Regions from separate parts of the Homo sapiens genome. Here region 2 is linked to region 1. The links are contacts of gene promoters, found by promoter capture Hi-C in human tissues and cell types (Jung and others, 2019). All regions are on one chromosome and are shown on one strand. Each heading gives the region's core, a stretch centred on a gene start or on the middle of the fragment in contact. The rest is flanking DNA. Distances are from core to core; before and after follow the strand shown. Region 1 holds the start of PIEZO1 (piezo type mechanosensitive ion channel component 1 (Er blood group)). Region 2 holds the start of DEF8 (differentially expressed in FDCP 8 homolog).

Region 1 (5,723 bases), core at 2,880-5,379:
ACTGGACCCTGACGACTGCGGTGGTCCCATCTCAGGAGTGGGCTGCAGCGGGCAGATGAGGCCGTCAAGGCCCACGGTGGTTCCCCTTCATCTTTGAGCACCGAAAGCAAATGCACTGCCGAGTCAGCACAGGAGAGACACCGCCCAGGAAGCTGCCTTGGGGCCAGGATCAGAGACTGTGCGCCCCCACCCACCCCCAGAGGAAACTTCCTCTCTGTGGGACCCTGGCAGCTGGGGCTGGAGCTCCCTGTGTCCTGGGCACCAGTGACCCGCTGCGGGACGAGCACCCGCTGTGACCCATCCTCAGCTCCTGGGCAGTCCCTGGCCCCTTCCCCAAACACGCACACATGTGCACACTCACACCTGCAGCCCTTGGTGCTGTGAGGCAGGCCCCAGGCTCTCCTGCTGACTCATCCAGCCTCCAGGCCCAGCATGGGGACAGAGTGCGCCCCTCTGTCACACCAGGGAGCTGATGCTCAGAAGGGGCCCCCAAGCCACAGAGGAAAGCAGCTCCCACCCTACTCTGCCACGGCCATGCTCTTCCCAGCACCCTCGGATGGGACAGGCCAGGGTTCTGTGCAGGTCCTGAGACCCGGGCACAGGCCTCCGAAGGGTGACTCTGCCATGCTCAGCTCAGAGGGTCTGCACTGCTGAGCAACTGTGAGCCGAGTGCCTGCTGTTCCCCAGCTTCTCGGCCGCCTCCCAGGAGTGGTGAGACCCTGATGGTGACAATGTTCTGAAAAAGGAGGCAGCATCCCTCATGCTAAATGGTGACACTTCTCAGTGACAATCAGCCTGAAGGAGGTGACGCCCAGCTTGCCGGCCGTGGGTGTGCCCCTAGGCTGTGCCACGAGGCACCCTGAAAAGCAGAAGCCATATTGTCAGCCCACGTGGGTGTCCCACAGTCAGTGACACGGTGGCTCCTCTCGCACCAGCTGGCTTTCCGCAGCCCTGTCTAGATTTCCCACTGATAGAACTGGAGGTGCGGTCCCATATTATCAGAATCACAAATGTCCTGCCCTTTTTTTTCCTTTTTCTTTTTTGAGACAGGGTCTGTCACCCAGGCTGGAGTGCAGTCATACAATCATGGCTCACTGTAGCCTCCAACTCCTGGACTCAAACAATCATCCCACCTTGGCCTCCTGAGTAGCTGGGACTACAGGTGCACTACCACCATGCCCAGCTAATTTTTAAATATTTTTCATAGAGATGGGGATCTCTACGTTGCCCAGGCTGCTCTCGAATGGCTACGCTCAAGCAATCCTCCCACCTTGGCCTCCCGAAGCTCTGGGATTACAGGTGTGAGCCATCGCGCCCAGCCCTGCCCTGACATCTCTCTAGAAGAGATGGGCCCTGATCCCCCAAGGCTCCAGCAACATTAGGTGAGACTGCTGAAGGAGGCCCCTGCTCCCTGTGGGTGGGGCAGCTCCCTGCCAGATTTTTGGGTAATGATCCTGCACTGGAGAGGGAGGGCGTGGGGGCCAGGGGCACCCCAGGATGACTCAAACCCTCACCAGGCACTGTCTGAGCCAGCGCAGGCACACACTGACTAATGCCTTCTGAAGGCCTCATTCATTTCCAAAACACGGTAGAACTGCTTCCAGCCAAAGCTCGCCAGAGAGGGAGGGGGCACTCCAAAGACAGCAAAGCCAGTGTCCCACCTCCGGCCAGGCCAGCTGAACCTGCACATCGCGGGTCCATCTGGAGCTGCCCACACCCCAGGGCCAGAGAGCCTGACTCAGGAGTCCCGGCCAGCAGGCAGGCAGGCAGGGTTCTTGGCCGGCTCCACTTCCATCTCCCCCAGGTGACTGAGAGAAAACACTGAGTGAGGCCCAGGCCCCACGCCCCATCCCCAGACACAGAATCAGTGTGGGGTATGGCCCGGGCTTCAGCATCTTTCAAATTAAGAGACTTTATTTGGGACCAGTTTTAGGTTTAAGGAAAGTACCATACAGACAGACAGTCAGTCATCACTATTCTTTAAAAGTTTCATAGAAGACTGACACGGGGCCTGGGTGAGCACCCCTGGGCTACCTCCCCATCCTCCCCAAGGAGGCCAAAAGCAAGAAGAACAGTGATCCCTCCCCCAGATCCCCCACGCGGATAGCAATCGAGAAGGCAGAACCCAGGCCCCCTGACCAATGCCCAGGGGGCAGCAAACCACATGTGCCACAGAATCGGGCTCAACACCTGTTTAGGTACAGCCCATGAACTCAGGAGGGCTTTTACATTTAATGGCTGGAAAAATACCAGAAGAAGAAGATTTTGTGACATGAAAATATTTACCATCTGGTCATTTAAAGAAAAACATTGCCAACTCTGCCCAAGGAGCAGCTGCCATCTGAGAGGGGGGGCATTCCCTGCAGGGAGGACACCCGCTCCCACTCAGACACAAGAGGAAATGGAACGATCAGTGTGAACGGGACGTTTCAGAAGCTTTCCTGTTTCCCTCTCTAAGGCCTGTCAGCTCTAGACTCTGCCTCTGTGCCAGGCTGTCCTGCTTGTTTTCAAGGCACAGGAAGGAACACAGCCGGGCCCTGTTTACGGCCCATCTGACCCTGCACTGGGAGCAGGTCCCAGGCTGCCCAGTCCACACAGGGCTGACCGCACTGAAGAGAGTTGCTCAAAACCTCTCCTCTCCAGCCTCAATGGTTTTCATTGATTCCTGTCTAGAAAATCTTCCCCAAGTTTCACCACCTTTCTGTGCGACCGATCAAAACGCAGTCTGTCTGGGAGCCTCAGGCAGGCGGCTCTAGATCCCCAAAGCTAGCGCTGGGCGAGCTCCCACCTGGAGCGAGGCAAGGGCTCCGAAAGGGCTTTTACAATCAAAAGGCCCCACCTGCCGTGTCCATGGCGGACTCCCAATGCAAACCGTCCCACTTGTCCGTGGGTTAATTCCATCCGACTGCTTCCCAGATCAATCACACGTGGGGAGCCCCCGGGCGGAGGGCGCGGACCCTGGGTCCCGGCTAGGCCAGGGTCGGGGAAGGGTAGGGGTGCCAGGCCGTGCAGCACCAAGCCACCCGGGTGTGCTTCGCGAAAGGGGCACCACTGCCCGGCAAGCAGGGAACACAGATGCCAGGACTGGGGACCCCTGCCCCGCCCTGACACCAGGCCACAGCCTCCGGGGGTGTCCCCTCCCCCAGACCAGGGCAGAGGCCGGCCCCCGCCCCTGCGAAACTGAGCCCAGTAGGGCAAGGGAGGACCAGGGAGGAACCCACACTATTTTTTTCCAAAGTGTGGGACCGCCTCAGTCCGGCAGAGGGGGGTGCAGCGGTGAGCGGGGCTGGGCCCTGGGCACGGACGTTCGTTGGGCTCGGGAAGCTCCAAATTAAACAGCTCCAGGCAGGAAGCCCGCCTTCTCCCAGATTGTCAGGAAGTCCTGATGCAACTTTGCGCTTTTTTTTTTAAACCCGAAAGAGAAAAAGAGATTCGTGCTCCCCCCACCACCGCCGCGGCCCTTCCCACCGGGGCAAACACCGCCTCGCCCGGCGGCCTCCTCTCCGCAGCGCCCCGGCGGAGACGCCAGCCGCGCTATGCCCGGCGCTCGCTCGACCGCCCCCGTGGGCACGCGGTGCCGTCTCCCCCAGCCGCCGCCGCCCTTCCAGCCCGGCCCTGGGACAGGAGCCCCGCCGCCGCCTGGCGCGCTCATGCTTCAGGAATGCGGGCGCCCGGGTCGCGCGTCCCTGGGAATTTCCGCGCCCGCTCGCCCGCAGCCCTCGCCCCGGCCGGCGTCGTCCGGTGTCCAGGCCGTGGGGAGCCGAGACGCAGCCCCCTCCCGTCGCCCCCAGGCGCCCGCCCCCCACTCACCAGCCAGCAGCGCGCAGGGCAGCAGCAGCCAGTACAGGACCGCGCCGAGCACGTGCGGCTCCATGGCTGGAGGGCCCAGGGCCCGGCCCAGACCGAGCGGACGCCGCGGCGCTATGGGGCGGTGCGGGGGCCCCGGGGCCGGCGCGCCATGGCTGACCCGCGGGGACCCGCGCGCCGCCTTCTCCTCTTCCTCCTTCTCCTTCGGCCGCCCCGCCGGTGCCGACGTCCCGGGCCCGCGCTCGCTCAGGCGACCGCCCTGCCCCTCGGCGGAGCGCAGCGCTCGGCTCACTGGGGCCGAGCTGGGCCGGACGGCGGCTCCCGCCCTCCTCCGCCCGCGGGCCTTTATAAGCTCGGCCCCCTCCCGCCCTCCCCGGCGTGCCCGCCTCCGCGCTTCCCCGACGGCCCGGCGCGCCCAGGCACCCCCTCCGCTGTCCCGCGCGGCCCGTCCCGCCTCCGGCCCGCCCTGGTGCGTTGGGGCCTGGAGACCCCCGACTGGCGCTGGCCCGGAGCGGACCCCTCCCCTCCCGCAGTCTTGGCCCCGCGGCTCCGAGCGTGCGCGGCGGTGGGCAGGGGCGCTTCTCGCTGGGTGGGCTGCGGCTGGGGCCCGGGCGCTACATAAGGGGTCCCGGGGCCTCTGGCTCCCCCAGGCAGCGCCCCACGCGCAACTGCACCCCGCGTGCCCGAGCGACTTTCGCTTTGCTCCCCGAGGCGCGAGCACGCAGCGCCCCCTGGGGACCGTGGGGAGGCTCGGAGTTCCCGCGGCGGCCGGGCCTAGTGGTCCCGGAGGGAGCACGCGGGATGCTCGGGTCGCAGCAGTGCCGCGATCCGCGTTGGTCTGACGGGGGCTCGGGGGCTGCTCCCAGCCACGCCGGCCACCGCGCGCGGCTTTGCCCGGGTCGCTCTGGCGTGAGACGGTGAGAGTGAGAGCCACGGCCTGTGCACCTGCTGCCGCGGCGCCCTGCCACGGAGAGGTAGGGTCTGAGTCCAGGGTGTTCGGGACCCTCACCCAGGCCACGTCAGTTTGGCCTTCGTCTGCCCTTGAGATGGGCACAGAAAGAGGGCAAAGGGCTCTACACCGTTTAATTGGGCTCAGTTCATGGCTCTCAAACTCAGCTGCGTAAGGCAGGGAGTGGGGCTGGGGGGACTGTGGCCACTGAGCCTCAAGGCACTGGCAACTCATGAGAGCCCAGCACAAGCCCACACCCTCCAGCTCAAAAAAAAAAAAAAAAAAAAAAGATGGCGGGGCAGTGGCTCAGGCCTGTAATCCCAGCACTTTGCGGGGCTGAGGCAAGGGGGTAGGGGGTCGGGGGATCACTTGACGTCAGGAGTTCGAGACCAGCCTGGCCAACATGGTGAAACCCCGTCTCTACTAAAAATACAAAAATTAGGCCGGGCGCGGTGGCTCACGCCTGTAATCCCAGCACTTTGGGAGGCCGAGGCGGGTGGATCACCAGGTCAGGAGATCGAGACCATCCTGGCTAACACGGTGAAAACCCATCTCTACTAAAAACATAAAAAATTAGCCGGGCGTGGTGGCGGGCTCCTGTAGTCCCAACTACTCGGGAGGCTGAGGCAGGAGAATGGCATCAACCCAGGAGGCGGAGCTTGCAGTGAGCCGAGATAGCGCCACTGCACTCCAGCCTGGGCGACAGAGCCAGACTCCGTCTCAATAAATAAATAAATAAATAAATAAATAAATAAATAAATATACAAAAATTAGCCGGGCGTGATGGCAGGCGCCTGTATTCCCAACTACTCAGGAGGCCGAGGCAGGAAAATCGCTTGAACCTGGGAGGCAGAGGTTGCCGTGAGCCGAGATCATGCCATTGCACTCCAGCCTGAGTGACAAGAACGAAACTCCATTAAAAAAAAAAAAACCACCCAGAAATGGAGATTTTCATGGGAAGTCTAGT
Region 2 (5,411 bases), core at 736-3,235, 1.2 Mb after region 1:
CGAGCCAGGAGGTGAAGGTGGGGGTGGGGGTGGGCCTGGCCTGTTGGGGAGAGGAGCCAGGAGGTGAAGGTGGGGGCCGACTTCTTCCCAGGGTCCCTCTCACTGCCAGGCTGAGGATGTACTGTGGGGCCCAGGTGGGAGCTGAGATGGGGAAGGCCTTTCCAGAAGGAGGAGCTGGGAGAGAGGCCAGGTGGACGTGGAATCTCTAGGACTGGGGACCTTGAAGCAGCAGATAGAGCGGCGGCTCAGGGCAGTCTCCCTCCAGGTCTGAGTGCATGGAGGGACACGGCGTCCGAAGCCACCCTAAGCTGGGGTGGAATCTCACTGCACCCTTTCTGAGCGATGTGGCCTTGGGGGGGCCGATGGAGTTGCCTGTCCTGTAGGTGACTGCTGGCCCCCAGGCTTCCGTAGGGTTAAATGAGATGGTGTTGGCAACACGCCCCCCAAAACCTGGCCATAAACTGGTCCCAAAACTGGCCATAAACAAAATCTCTGCAGCACTGTGACATGTTCATGACGGCCATGACGCCCACGCTGGAAGGTCGTGGGTTTACCAGAATGAGGGCAAGGAACACCTGGCCCACCCAGGGCGGAAAACTGCTTAAAGGCATTCTTAAGCCACAAACAATAGCGTGAGCGATCTGTGCCTTAAGGACATGCTCCTGCTGCAGGTAACTAGCCAGACCCATCCCTTTATCTTGGCCCATCCCTTCGTTTCCCATAAGGGATACTTTTAGTTAGTCTAATATCTACAGAAACAATGCTTATCACTGGTTTGCCGTTAATAAATACGTGGGTAAGTCTCTGTTCGAGGCTGTCAGCTCTGAAGGCTGTGAGACCCCTGATTTCCCACTCCACACCTCTCTATCTCTGTGTGTGTGTGTCTTTAGTTCCTCTAGCGCTGCCGGGTTAGGGTCTCCCCGACCGAGCTGGTCTCTGCAAGGTGGTGTGTGGCTCCCACTTGGGAGGCCTCCAGTTACTGGCACTGTCATCACCATGCCCACTGAACAAAGTGGACCAAGCCCCAGAGGCAGCCAAAACCACACCTTTCTGCAGGGAGGGTAAACTGAGCCCGCGAGCTCAGGGCAAGCGCACCAGGCGCATATGCTGGCCTTCATCTGTCCTCAGCTCCTCCCTGCGGGCACAAGCGGGGGCAGCTGAATCTTCCACGCGAGAAGCCTAAGAGTAGGGATACGGGGGCGGGGAGCAGCAGGCCTGCTCTGTGTGTAAACAACGGGAAAGCAGGAATAACGCCAGGGCCCGCGGACACCAGCTGCCTCCGAAGTCCCGCTGCCCGGCGCCTGCATGGAGCAGCCTCCTGAGCGCAGTGTGGCGCGTCCTCCTGTGTAAAGAGGGTAGAGCCGCGCCGGGTCCCTCCCTCTGCAGCCGTGAAGCCCCCGCGGGGCCCTGCAGGTGGCTGGCGGCACCTGCACACGGTGGTTCTCTGTTCCTTTTTCCTCCTCAACCACTGAGGTTAAAAAAAGTGTTAAAAGCCACCCTTTTTGTTTTTTTGAGACGGAGTCTCGCTCTGTCGCCCAGGCTGGAGTGCAGTGGTGCGATCTCGGCTCACTCCGAGCTCCGCCTCCCGGGTTCACGCCGTTCTCCCGCCTCAGCCTCCCGCGTAGCTGGGACTACAGGCGCCCGCCACCGCGCCCGGCTAATTTTTCGTATTTTTAGTGGAGACGGGGTTTCACCGTGTTAGCCAGGATGGTCTCGATCTCCTGACCTCGCGATCCGCCCGCCTCGGCCTCCCGAAGCGCTGGGATGACAGGCGTGAGCCGCCGCGCCCGCCCATTTTTTTTAAACGTGTTGGGGTTTGGGTTTCAGCCACAGGCCTTCTGCGATGAGAGGAAACCCAGGACGCGCAGCCCCAGGTCAGGCCCGCGGAACAGCCGGGCGGACTCCGGGGCTCGCAGACTCGCGACCCGCGTGCCATGAACCTCCGCGCCGGAGGCGGCAGCAGCGAGCGCGGGGCTGGATCCAGCGTAGCGGGGCGGCCGGGCGGATCCAGCGCAGCCGGGAGACAGATGCGAGGCGGCGGTCAGGTGAGCGGCGCGGGGCCGGCGGGGTCGGGGCCGGCGGGGACGGGGCCGGCGGGGACGGGGCCGGCGGGGACGGGGTCGGCGGGGTCGGGGCTGGGAGGGACGGGGCCGGCGGGGACGGGGTCGGCGGGGACGGGGCTGGGAGGGACGGGGCCGGCGGGGACGGGGCCGGCGGGGACGGGGCCGGCGGGGTCGGGGCTGGGAGGGACGGGGCCGGCGGGGACGGGGTCGGCGGGGTCGGGGCTGGGAGGGACGGGGCCGGCGGGGACGGGGCCGGCGGGGACGGGGCCGGCGAGGTCGGGGCCGGCGGGGACGGGGCTGGGAGGGCGGCCCGCCCGGCGCAGGGGCCTCGAGACCTCGGCCGCCCCACCCCGGGGACGCCGCCGCTGCTCCGGCGTCCACACCAGCTGCGTGCGGAGCACCCGGGCGGCTCAGGGGACCCGCGTGGCCGTGCCCCCGCCCTGGGCTGCTCCGAGCCTCAGTTTCCCCCTCGGTGGAACGGGTGGGTGGGAGAGACCTGCCCCCGAGGAGCCCGGGAGACCGGGCGAGCTCCCGCGGGTGTGGTGGGTGGGGAGGCACAGTGCTGGGGTGGCTTCTCCCTGCAGCAGGTGCCGAACCCACGGCCAGGCTTCCGTGGCCAGCAGCCCTAGAGGAATGGCCATCCTGTCCCTGCGAGCCCCTGGGCCCTGGCAGGCGATGCAGGTATGGGCAGACAGGACGCTGTTGACTCCGCACACCGGGGTGACTTCTCAGGTTCTCGGGGTGGCAGCTGCAGTGATGACACCGCTTCCTGGTGGTCACGCCGCGGGCAGGACGCGGGAGGCCAGGTCCGTGCATCCCGCGTGTCCTGAGCTTCGGCCCAGGGTCCCTCCGTGCCCCGGAACCCCGCCGGCTTTCTTCGGCTTCCTTTCATTGCTAAGTTGTGGGGTCCTCCCCGATGAGAGCAGTGGGCTCTAGAGGAGGGGCAGGGGGTGGCCAGACCTCTTGCTTTCACTCTTCCACTTCCTGCCCGCTCCTTTCTGAGGCCAAGTCCCACATCTGGGTGCAGAACTGGTGGGGTGAGCCTGGTGAGAGGGGCAGGCTGGCGTTCTGCTCAGAGTCGGCCACTGTGGCCGGCATCCCCAGGTCTGTGTGAGCAGAAGCTAAGGCTGCGAGGCCAGCGGCCTCCCCTCATTCATCCCCTGCCCGTGCGCCAGGCCTGGGGCTGGCACTGACTGTCAGTAAATAGGCAAATAAAAGATGCCTTTTTTCACAGCCCGGAGGAGAGCTGGTAGCCTAGAGTACAGCTGCTGGGCAGAACGGAGGTGTCCCTGCCAGCGTGCCTTCCTTGACGCTCCTCTGGCCATGTTTTAAACACCAGGAGGTTTCCAGCGGCTTCCCCAGGCGTAGCTCCTGCACCTTTTTCCTGGGCTGGTCACCATATGTGATGACAGTGCCAGTCTGTTCTGAGCAGCTCTGGGCTCCTGGCTTCACTGACATCATAAACAAGTCCTTAGCCCTTCCATCCACCCCAGAAAGTAGGTGTTCCCCCTGATTTATAGGCAAGACAATGGAGAACCAGAGTCTAAATCAGGGCTGATTTTTTTTTTTTTTTTGAGATGGAGTTTTGCTGTGTTGCCTAGGCTGGAGTGCAGTGGCACAATCTCGGCTCACTGCAACCTCCACCTCCCGTGTTCAAGTGATTCTCCTGCCTCAGCTTCCCAAGTAGCTGGATTACAGGCATGCACCACCATGCCCAGCTAATTTGTTTGTGTTTTTAGTACAGACGGGGTTTCACCATGTTGGTCAGGCTGGTTTGAACTCTTGACCTCAAATGATCCACCCGCCTCAGCCTCCCAAAGTGAGCCACCACACACCGGCCATGATTCTTAAAAATAACAGTAATAGGCCAGGCATGGTAGCTCACACCTATAATCCCAGCAATTTGGGAGGCAGAGGCAGGAGGGTTGCTTGAAGCCAGGAGTTTGAGACCAGCCTGGGCATCAGAGTGAGACTCCGTCTCTACAAAAAGTTAAAAAAAATTAGCTGAGTGTGGTGGCACACACTGGAGTTCCAGCTACTTGGGAGGCTAATATGGGAGGACCCCTTCAGCCCAGGAGTTTGAGGCTGCAGTGAGCTGTGATCGCACCACTGCACTCCAGCTCGGGTGACAGAGCAACACCCTGTCTCAAAAAAAAGTAATAATGATAAATTATAATCAATATTTATTGGGTGCTTACTATGTGCCGGCCAGTGTTCTCTGAACTTAGTATTAACTACTTTAATCTTGACAATAACCCTGTATGGTACTATTGTAATCCCCATTTGAGACATGGGAGAATGGAGGCAGAGAAACGTTTATCCACTTACCCAAGGTCACACAGCTAGGAGCTAGCAGAGTTGGGATTCAAGCTGGACGTGTCTGTCTTGTTACCATGAAACTATTGGGATCATCAGTCAGAATCTTTTCTTTTTTTTTTTTCTGAGATGGAGTCTCACTCTGTCACCCAAGCTGGAGTGCAGTGGCTCAATCTCGGCTCACCTCCTGGGTTCAAGCGATTCTCCTGCCTCAGCCTCCCAAGTAGCTGGGATTACAGATGCCCACCACCACGCCCGGCTAATTTTTGTATTTTTGGTAGAGACGGGGTTTCACCAGGTTGGCCAGGCTGGTCTCGAACTGCTCACCTCAGGTGATCAGCCCACTTCTGCTTCCCAAAGTGCTGGGATTACAGGCGTGAGCCACCGAGCTGGGTCTTTCAGTCAGAATCTACTTTGGCCGCAAGAGACAAAAACCTCCCCTATAACACTGGTGGGAATATCGTATTTCTCTCACTTGAATGAAGTCTGGCTGTGAGCAGCTTAGGGCTCAGGTGCAGTCCCCTGCAATCACGTCACTCTCCCCAGTGTGGCTATTCCAGCTGCAGCCTTTACATCTGCATTCCAGGCAGCAGGAGGCAGGGATGGCTGAAGAGGGGCAGCCCCTACCTTTAAGGACAATTCTCAGAAGTCTTTTCTTTTTTCTCATATGTATGTATACACACACACACATATATATGTATATACACACACATACATATTTATGTAAAAAAGATTTTTTTTTTTTTTGATATGGAGTCTCGCTCTGTTGCCCAGGCTGGAGTGCAGTGGTGCGTTCTCGGCTCACTGCAAGCTCCGCTTCCTGGGTTCACGCTATTCTGCTGCCTCAGCCTCCCGAGTAGCTGGGGCTACAGGCGCCTGCCACCACACCTGGCTAATTTTTTGTATTTCTAGTAGAGACAGGGTTTCAATGTGTTAGCCAGGATGGTTTCGATCTCCTGACCTGGTGATCCGCCCGCCTCGGCCTCCCAATGTGCTGGGATTACAGGCGTGAGCCACGGCGCCCAGCCCATA

The links. The method cuts DNA at HindIII sites, captures the fragments that hold promoters and counts their contacts. A contact is called where the count stands out against the background at its distance.
Region 2: a contact is called between the fragment with the promoter of DEF8 here and the fragment with the promoter of PIEZO1 in region 1, in 2 of the 25 tissues and cell types used here (lymphoblastoid cells and spleen).

Annotation. Positions count from the first base shown.
Region 1 is chr16:88,781,091-88,786,813 of GRCh38, forward strand. It overlaps PIEZO1 (piezo type mechanosensitive ion channel component 1 (Er blood group)), which reads right to left and starts at 4,130. Exons shown (of 51, transcript NM_001142864.4): 1 at 3,811-4,130. The coding sequence starts at 3,874. RefSeq lists enhancers at 89-218, 259-398, 419-788, 799-878, 3,361-4,274 and silencers at 2,959-3,278, 3,779-4,258, 4,299-4,628. The HindIII fragment of the contact is 3,328 bases long and covers 996-4,323 here.
Region 2 is chr16:89,946,770-89,952,180 of GRCh38, forward strand. DEF8 (differentially expressed in FDCP 8 homolog) reads left to right here and starts at 1,986. Exons shown (of 13, transcript NM_001242818.2): 1 at 1,986-2,045; 2 at 2,648-2,744. RefSeq lists an enhancer at 996-1,335 and a silencer at 2,016-2,115. The HindIII fragment of the contact is 40,323 bases long and covers 1-5,411 here.